Regions from separate parts of the Homo sapiens genome. Here regions 1 and 2 are each linked to region 3. The links are contacts of gene promoters, found by promoter capture Hi-C in blood cells and fetal thymus (Javierre and others, 2016). All regions are on one chromosome and are shown on one strand. The core of a region is centred on a gene start or on the middle of the fragment in contact, and the rest is flanking DNA. Distances in the headings are between cores, read along the strand shown. Region 1 overlaps MEIS1 (Meis homeobox 1). Region 2 overlaps MEIS1 (Meis homeobox 1). Region 3 holds the start of MEIS1-AS2 (MEIS1 antisense RNA 2).

The links. Contacts are between HindIII fragments. The CHiCAGO score rates a contact against its expected background, and 5 or more counts as called.
Region 1: a contact is called between a fragment that was not itself captured here and the fragment with the promoter of MEIS1-AS2 in region 3, in 1 of 17 cell types (megakaryocytes). The highest score is 6.6, in megakaryocytes.
Region 2: a fragment that was not itself captured here is called in contact with the fragment with the promoter of MEIS1-AS2 in region 3 in 1 of 17 cell types (megakaryocytes); the score reaches 5.4 in megakaryocytes.

Annotation. Positions count from the first base shown.
Region 1 is chr2:66,522,343-66,525,408 of GRCh38, forward strand. The region is part of intron 8 of MEIS1 (Meis homeobox 1); the gene reads left to right. Among named protein-coding and RNA genes, the nearest start is that of LINC01798, 50 kb to the right of the region's middle. RefSeq lists an enhancer at 1-1,567. The HindIII fragment of the contact is 2,712 bases long and covers 454-3,066 here.
Region 2 is chr2:66,549,594-66,552,767 of GRCh38, forward strand. All of the region lies in intron 9 of MEIS1 (Meis homeobox 1), which reads left to right. LOC124900511 (a long non-coding RNA gene) reads left to right here. Exons shown (of 2, transcript XR_007086610.1): 1 at 1-3,174. Among named protein-coding and RNA genes, the nearest start is that of LINC01798, 23 kb to the right of the region's middle. RefSeq lists an enhancer at 1-393. The HindIII fragment of the contact is 8,417 bases long and covers 1-3,174 here.
Region 3 is chr2:66,438,695-66,441,909 of GRCh38, forward strand. MEIS1-AS2 (MEIS1 antisense RNA 2) reads right to left here and starts at 1,636. Exons shown (of 2, transcript NR_046625.1): 1 at 1,531-1,636; 2 at 393-995. It overlaps MEIS1 (Meis homeobox 1), which reads left to right. Exons shown (of 13, transcript NM_002398.3): 3 at 1,149-1,290; 4 at 1,868-1,918; 5 at 2,720-2,770. RefSeq lists an enhancer at 747-1,946. The HindIII fragment of the contact is 4,208 bases long and covers 359-3,215 here.

The DNA.
Region 1 (3,066 bases), core at 560-3,059, 84 kb after region 3:
GAGGAAGTTTACTTTTTAGATAAGCCCCTTTGCTCTTAGCCATTTGGTTATGGTTCTATTGTGGCAGCTCCATTGAGACAACAGTGGGCCAGGCGAGGGGATCCTCCTGTTGGAGATGCCTGTTGCCAACAATGTATTTGATGAAATGGTAAATAGGAGATATACGTGTCTGGCTCATTGGCAGGCATTCTTTTTGACTTCTTTCACACAACTGGTGTTTTCGTGTTTAATTGAACAAGGAATGAGTAGTAAATGAAAGCTGCTGCCTGAAATCCCACTGTGAGCATGTTTTGCACTTGGCTCCCCAGTGAAAAGGCAATTTGTGAAATTATGTGATGGAGTAATTAGATGAAGCCAGGGCTTCTGACTGTTGCCATGCATATGTGGCGAGGGTTTGTTGGGAAGAGGGAGGGGGAGAAAAAAATAGATTATTACTCTGGCAAGTCGGCTCAAAGCTTCTTCATTTATTTGTAAACAGAATATTTAGTGACCGCATAGGAAGTAGCTGTAATCACCAGCTCATAAAGAAACCACAGCAGAGCTTTTGGATTTTTGCAGAGTGCTCATGTAAAATTTAAGCTGGGAGGCAGAATCCCTGTTAATGTAATTAGGATCTAATTTACCACCCTTTGCACACAGATGTAATAATGTCTAGATATTTATTCTATCTTTAAGCATGTTACATATACCTCAGTGCAGCAGTTACTGAACAGAAACAGGTGTGAGCAGTTTCCTAATTCGTTTTTACACTGTAAACACATAGCAATTTAAGGGAAATATTTACCAAAAACGAGGGGAAAGAATGTCTGCAAATGAGGCAGTAATGGACAGTTGCCGTTTATGTACTGATGGATTTCTCAATGGTTAAGTAAATTAAAGCAAATGCTAGAAAAATCAATAGGCCAGCATAGTCTTGGTTTTGCCTCATAGACTTCAGGACAGAATGACAGATGTGGTGTCTATGACCCATTTAAGTATTAATGCTTGAAAAACTGCTTCTGCATGCAAGGTTGTAGGCTTAGAAACATTCTCCTATATTAAATTACAGACAATAATATTTTTAAGTATATGTGGAATTTATATGTTTCAGTTAGGTTGTTCTTATGTGTTACATTTATACTGGAAGATTAGTTGCTTAGTTGTTGCAATAGCACCATAAATCAGTTTTGAATGTTCCCACAAGGAAACATCTTCATAACGCTGTAGTTGGAAGGTGAAGATGATGTATTTTGAGCTGACGTGTATGTTGAAGTGAATATGCTCAACAGCACTCTATGTGGAAACCAAATTAAATTTAATTAAGGAGTAGATGCTCAGAGCCTTTGGAAAAAATCTGTAAAGTAGCATTCAAATGTGGCATTATAATTCAGTTAATCTCCAGGGCTACAAATGCTGTATTTTACATTTGAACTAACATGGGTAACATGTCACGTAGGTTGACTGTCATAGCGTGTGGAATTGTGGAGCTATTCTGATGTCCTAAGTGGTAGGTGTTAGCCTCTGAAAATGAGAAGGCAGACCTTATTTGGTAGCCCCTCAGAATGTTAAGTTTTCCACTCGTTGTTCCTATTTCTAAAAATTCATTACCAATTTCATGATAAATAATTTAAATACAGTCAAAATGTTGATTTGTTGACTACCAGAGATAGGAAGGCAAGGAGAGAAGCAAGGCCAAATGTACTTGCATGTCAGAGACCAAAATTTGCTCTTATGATCGAAATAAAATGAGGTTAAAGTTATTATCCTGGTCATTGGAGGAGAAGGTGCCTTTTGTTGGAGAGAAAAAGAGTTTTGCTGGCTTGAAGTGTCCTGTTTACCTTCTTGTGCTGTCTGAACTTAGACAATAATTGCTCAACTACCTTCCTTGCTCATGACAAAGCAGGCATGGTCCAGCCTGACTCTGGGTTTTGAAAATCAGTATGTAAAGGTAATATTGTGGCTAGGAGCAGTGGCTGTTGCCTGTAGTCCCAGCACTTTGGGAGGCTGAGGAAGGAAGACTGCTTAAGCCCCGGAGTTCAAGACCAGCCTGGACAATATGATGAAACCCCATCTCTACAAAAAGTTAAAAAATTAGCCAGGTGTGGTGGCTAATGCCTGTAGTCCCAGCTACTTGGGAGGAGGTGGGAGGATCACTTGAGCCCAGGTGTGTTAGGCTGCAGTGAGCCAAGATTGCACCACTGCACTCCAGCCTGGGCGACAGAGTGGGACCCTGTCTCAAAATGAATAAATAAATAAAATTTAAAAAATTAAAAAAAAAGGTGATATTGTGATAAGTCATATCATTGGAAACATTGCTAAGTTGGTATGATGAAAAGAAGTACAGTGATTATTTAGGTTCTAAATAGAAGCCTTTAAATTTTTTTTCACACAAGTATTTTACACAAATATTTCATGAAAATATTTACAACATTTCTCCGAACTTGTCAAATTTATCATGTGATTTAACAATGAACACATCTGGAGTTTTAACTGAGGTATAACAAGTAACTTTAAAAAAGTGAAAGTCTATCACCTGAAAAACTAGAAAATGAAAATTACTACAGAATTGAAAATTCTTTTGCTTCTTTAAAAACAGTGCTCCTTGGCTGAGCACAGTGGTTCATGCCTGTAATCCTAGCACTTTGGGAGACCAGGACAGGCAGATTGCTTGAGCCCAGGAATTCAAGACCAGGAATTCAATGGGCAACATGGTGAAACCCTGTCTCTACAAAAATACAAAACTTAGCCTGGTGTGGCGGGGCACGCTTGTAGTCCCAGCTACTCAAGAGGCTAAGGCAGGAAAATCGCTTGAGCCCAGGTGGTGGAGGTTGCAGTGAGCCAAGATCACTCCACTGCACTCCATCCTGGGCGGCAGAGTGAGACCTTGTCTCAAAAACAAACAAACAAAAAACAACAAACAAACAAACAAAAACAGTGCTCTTTAAGCTATGGCATGCATTTAAATTATCTGGATCTTTTTAAAAATGTAGATTCTGATTGAGAGGGTTGGGGCCTGAGATTCTGCATTTTCAGCAAGCTCCTATTGCTGCTGGTGCTGCTGGTCCACAGACTGCAGCTTGCATAGAA
Region 2 (3,174 bases), core at 476-2,975, 110 kb after region 3:
CATATATCTGTATTTTAAAACTTAAAGCTGATGTTGAGACAGTTTTAATACAATGGAGGCTGCACAAATGTCCGCATTTCCCTGGGAAGTGTTCCTGTTTGCGGGCAAAGGAGTGGCAGGACAAGCTCTCTAGTTAAGAAACGAAAAGCGCTGTCATTCAGGGGATCTATCCTGTGAGCCATCTCTCTTCCTCTGCAGGGTTGCTAGCAAACTCCACTCATAAACACAGTTACCAGAGAACAAATCCCAATACAAGTTGCTTACTATGGGTGGACGGCCTTATTATGGGATATTTCCTGTGAATGCAGGAAGAGGAAGGCATTCTTGTGACTTCAAGCAATATATATATACACACAGTTTTCTAAATTCTATGCACAGTCTCTGCCGGAGAGCAATCTTCCTAATCAGTCCATGATCACAATTCGACTTTCTCAGTTTTGTAACCAGAAGGGAGAGAAAGGATGTTTAAAAAGTTTTAATTCACACTCTAAAATAATTTTAAAGTATATGCAGACTTTACCCTAAACTTCACACTGCTATTCAATTCTGCACGGGTAAATAACTTAAAAATAGCTTTTAATTAGTTATTTGGGACAGAAACACAATTCTGTGCTTAACTGCCACTTTGTGCAGTGTGTGGTTTCTCTCTACTTGTATATATATGGAGTTAGAAGTGGCTTTTGCTTGCACCACAGTGCTTTGCATTTGGCAATTGTTTCAACATTTAACAATGTTGTTTGCTGTAGAAAATGTCCCTCAAGTAACTAAAAGTTGTAAGAGAGATTGTTTTTCTTTAGTTTGACAAATAATGACAATACCATGTTTGATTTGAATTTTTAATGGTTTATTAATTTTTATAGAAACCTCTTCCTGTTTTGTTTTGTTTTGTTTTGTTTTGTTTTGTTTTGTTTTGTTTTGTTTTGATACCGAGTCCTGCTCTGTTGTCCGGGCTGGAGTGCAGTGGTGTGAACATGGCTCACTGCAACCTCCAACTCCTAGCTCAAGTAATCCTCCTGACTCAGCCTCCCCAGTAGTTGGGAATACAGGCATATGCCACCATGCCCAGTTAATTTTTTTTTCTTTTGTTGAGGCAGGGGTTTTGCTATGTTGCCCAGGCTGGTCTCTAACTCCAGGGCTCAAGAGATCCACCCACTTCAGCCTCCCAAAGTGCTGGGATTACAGGCGTGAGCTACTGCACCCACTTATAAACATTTTTTATAAAAAATGTTTTTCATCTTAGCTATACTGAGCATCGGTACAAGTTATTTTCTACTAAAAATAATAATTTTGAAAATGTCATCATTAGTATTTCTGTGTTTCCCTTTCATTTATTTATCCACAACTTTTAAACATCTGTGTCTTCCTTCTTGGATTTCTTAAAACTTGTTAATACACATGTACATTTTTGTATGAACTATGAGTCACTGTTGAAATGCAATTCAATAAAATGCTGAAGGACAGGTTGAGTGTAGATCAGTCATAATTATTAGCAGTAACATAATGTATCAAAATATATAATATGTAAGTGAAAAATATAAACTCATGTCTAGTTGTTAGAGTGTCATAGAAATCCTGGCTGATGCAGTTTTAAGTTAGGCTTTGACTGAAAAATAGACAAGAAGTTTGCTACATTTTAATGGTTCTTTCACTTCATCACTGAACTAATTTTACATTTCTCGAATTGACAGTGATATATACTACCTGCCTCAGGTGGCTAAGGCTAAAGTACATGGGATTTGAGGGGAGAAAGGCAAAAGAGGAGAGAACTTAAAAGTAAAACAATAAGACTGATTTGATTAATTAAGAGAAAATCTGGAAAAAAGAAAATCTCGTTATAACTCTTATTTTGGTCCAATTGTCAGAATAAAAATGGAGAGAAAGAATCTTAAAATGGTTGGCATCAGTACTTACAGCATGTGGGCCCTAGGATGGAATGTGAAATTTATTAGATGTGACATTGTGGGCCAAGTCTATGCCAATAAATTTTTTGAGAATTGAGGCAATTATGTAAATAATTTGAGTAAAATATTTTTAAATAAATTATCTAAGTATTTGATGTGACTGCATATTTTTAAAAAATCAACCTCCATAACTAGTTGTCTAAATATTTCAATCTAGTATGTTGTGGTTGACTTAGATTTAAAAGTGTAATCATTTTCGAAACATAATATGCACCAGAGATTTATGTATTCTTCCTTCTTTGGTCCCTTGCTCCCAATTATAATTTTATCCAAAAATGATAAATAATAGCATCAGGGGCTTTTGTCTCTTTGCTTTTTTACTGTTGTTGTGGTTTTAACAAATACTTATGTTATATCAGCAGTGCAAACATTACCAATATGCAAATGTTTTAGTAATTTAAGTAGAAACATCTTAAATTTTGAGATTAGATGGTTGTTTAGACCTTTAAGTATTTAAGTAGAACTTTATGGAAGACACACACACACACACACACACACACACAATCAATACTTGGTTGTTTTTTCTCCTGAATAGACCAACTTAATTTTTTTATATTGAAAATGTGAGTGTAGAATGGTCAGATAAAAATTCCCTTATACATGATCACACCAGTGTTGCGGACCTGGGAATTCCCTGTGATGAAAACTTATCTCTTGTACTTGTGTCGTACTTACTGGATGCCTCAGTTGCCTCCTGCCTCAGCAGAGTTTTGGCCTAGGGTGTACTGAATACATTTTACAGTTTCTTTGTTTACTACTCCTCATCCAAACACTTTCCTATTAAGTTCTGATATTAAATGATTATCCCTTTATGCTCTGAGAAGGCAATATGGGTTTTAGGTGCAAAATATATAGTGTATGTGAAATACAGTATTTATATATAGAGAAAAATTATTCTCCATCAAGAGAGCATATAAAATTCCAGGTTCCATCCTAGCAGCCAAGATGACACTGTTCAGAACTATGGTACTCTACATTTCTTAGATTTAGTGCTCATACCAGATTTTCCTAGTTATTTCATTTATTGCTTTCAAAGCTGCAAAGCATTCAGGCATCACTTCCCATTTATTATGAGTGGGAAAAAAGTATGTTATCCTTGGAGATTTATGCCACTGGCAAGTAAAAATGTAAACTTATTTTTTAAAAATAAGATCTCCTTTATTATAATAAACAGATTCAGCTGTTAAAGGTCAAGTTTCTTTCTGAGTTATGG
Region 3 (3,215 bases), core at 386-2,885:
GGCTAGTAGAATCCTTTGAAACTCACTTGTGCCTACTGTGTGCCGATGAATTTGGGAACCTCTTTTTACTTTGCAGAAACTTTTATTTCTATTTATTTATTTTTAAAAAATCAGGACACACTGACCCTCCCTCGCTGGAAAAAAAAATATATATAATCTTTTTATTTTATTTTCTGATCCCTTGTGCGATGGGCTTGTTTAATTCCCACCGTTCTGTCCGCAGAGTTAACTACAAGTGGTTTAGGCTCTGGGACAGAACATTTGGGGAAGCTTTGTAAAGGACCCCAAACTGTTAAATTCCCAGCTGAGCTGTGAGAGCTAATAAAAGACTTGAGATACCTCCTTGGGCATTAGAAGAAGCTTTTCTTTCTTTCTTCTTCTTCTTCTTTTTTTTTTTTTTTTCTTTTTTATGGGCTGAGACAAGCGACATCTAGGCCCCTCGCAATACTAGCTGCTTTGCCACTTCGCAGAGACAAAATGAAAGGCTCTACTGCAGGAACATTTGAAGGAACTTTCTTTGGGGGGCGGTGGGGGCTATCAGCGAAGGGAGGGGAATGTGCGTGGAGCTGAGGAGGAGCCTCCCGGCTCTCCGAGGGCCTTGGGGTTGGGATCCCTAGGTGCAGCCCGTTGACAGTCGGCCCCACGGCCATGGACGTCCTTTCCCCAAGTTAGCTGAGCGCCTGCCACCGAGATCCCCCGAGCCTGGGCTTCGCGCGGCCGCCTAGGAGGAACCCGCAGGAACCAGCCCTCCCCAACTCTCCGCCCGGCGCCTTTCTCCTCCACCGGATCCTGGATGTGCAGTGGAGGGGACGAGGGCTTGTCGGGTGGGAAACTTAATTCAAAATGGCTGCTGGAAACGCTTGGGTTTTATTCGTAGCAAATGTTGCCAATTTCTCCGGCCAGATACGCTAAACCGATCCTCAGATACCGTCCATGGCTCAGGGCCTCCGACTTCAGGGCTCCAGGAGGAAGGGGAGGTGAGCGGTCACCTGGGTCTGGGGGAGGGGGAGGAAAAGGAAAAAAGTAGATGACACAATCGGAGAGGGGGTCTGTTCCTCTTGCTCCTCCAGCTGTTTTTCTTGGGCACCTTTTTCCATTGACTGGGGACTAACCATTATGTTGTTTGTGACTGTTGTATTTTCTTGCAGACACCCCCTCTTCCCTCTCTTAGCACTGATTTTTGAGAAATGTGAATTAGCTACTTGTACCCCCCGCGAGCCGGGGGTGGCGGGCGGGGACGTCTGCTCGTCAGAGTCATTCAATGAAGATATAGCCGTGTTCGCCAAACAGGTCAGCAAAATAGATGTTAAAAAGTAAAAGAAACAAAAAGAGAGCCCCCCCTTCGCCAACACACACGCGCGCGCGCGCGCGCGAACACACACACACACACACACACACGGCACACTTTCAAAAGTAGCCAGCACGTAGTCGGCCTTAAGCCATGCATGTTACCTCCAACCTCAGATTTTCTCTCTGTCTGAGTGTCTGTTTGCAGATAACTTAAAATCACCCATCTGCATCCCCACTCACCCTCCAGAAAGCAAACGTGGAGAGCTCACTCTGCAGAATAAAATCAAGAACACCACGGTTGTAGCTGCTGTGGACTCGGCGGTCTGAGCAGCCTCCCCGAGAGCCGTAGTTGCTAGTAGAAGTAAGATTGAGCTCTGGGCTTGTTTTCAGCTTATTTAATTCACACTGAAATGTTTCTGCGCGGGACGAACTCGGTGTCACCGGGTCCCTCCCGGAGGGTTACTTCCTGCCCCCGACAGTGTAATGAGGCAAGAAACTAGGAAGGCGACCAGATTTCAAATTTTTCTTTCTTTTTTCTCTCCCCTCCCTCTCCCCTCTCCTTCTCACTTGTATTTAGATTCGCGCAGAAAAACCTCTATTTTCTTCTAATCCAGAACTGGATAACTTGGTAAGAGCGGACCCCTATTTCCCTCCCCCGCCCCCGACCCCCTACCTCCCACCTCCAACGCCCTCAGCTTTGCTTTGAGAGCCCTGAGATTTCTAGACCGGTCTTCCCGTGCCTGCAGGTTGGCTGCAAATGTTTCTGTACACGGACAACTGGTCCGGGACAAGATCCCGGGGAAATAAATTCATCTCGAGAGGGGCCGGGCGAGCCAGCGCGGGGAAACGCGAGCTTTTGTTTTTTATGACAGCCGGGCTGCGCAGCTCTAATCAGCGCGGGGATTTATCTCCCGGCCTGTCAGCATGTGTGCTTAAACTTTGCGGACTTCCTAGCCCTCTAAGTCCCATCACGAGGGCAGCCACCGGACAAGAGCCCCCAAACAACCAGTTTGCCTGAAAGGTGTAAGGAAGGCAGCAGAAACTTTGCAATGGGAAAAGCCACAGTTTGAGGGCCATTTGGAATATTTTTCTGTCCACTCCTTCCAAGGACACATGTAGTCCAGTGTTGTGGCCCTTTTGGGGTGGGGTGGGGCCAGTGGGACTGAGAAAGGGGAGAGCCATGGGGGAGGAGAGTGTTTATGATCCTCACTTAGATGCTGTGTTGTTGTTTTAGCTAGTTTTTTTTTTCTTAAGAAATATAAACCTCTAGATGGTACCCAGTTGCTGCTATTAAGTTTTAGTGTTATTGCCATAAATCAAAATAACTCTATTTACTGGTGGGAGGGGGTGGGCTGGAGATGGTAGAGCTGTGGCAGCCAGTTTTCTGCAAGCCAGGAATGGGGTGCTTATTGTTTTTGTATCTTTGCAGATGATTCAAGCCATACAAGTATTAAGGTTTCATCTATTGGAATTAGAGAAGGTAATTTCTCTAGCCTCTTTTCCTTTTACTTACCCCTTACCCCCAAACACACAGGGGGGAGGGTTCCGAATGGCTGAAGTTCAGCCTTCTGATACATTTGCATAAATGTCTTTCTTTCTGGTAATTAGTGTCAAGGCCAATCTTAGCGTCCATTTCTCTTCGCAGTTTAATTACAATTTCAGCCACTAAAACTGGGATCACAAACGCCCTAGCCTTGTGTTCATTCTTAATAACTTGCTGGCTTTGTGTAAATAGTTGCAATTCTGTGCATCCCAGCTGATGTTTCGAATGCTGCTCTGAGGTTGTTTCACAAGTTCATACCTCTGTTGTCTCTTCTCATCCTCTTCCTTCTCTTCTTTGCTACCTCTGAGGGAGAAAAAAGTTTTATTCAGTTGTAGTGAGTTTCTGGAAGACAGTCTTGAGAGCAAGGGCAGATCAGACACAG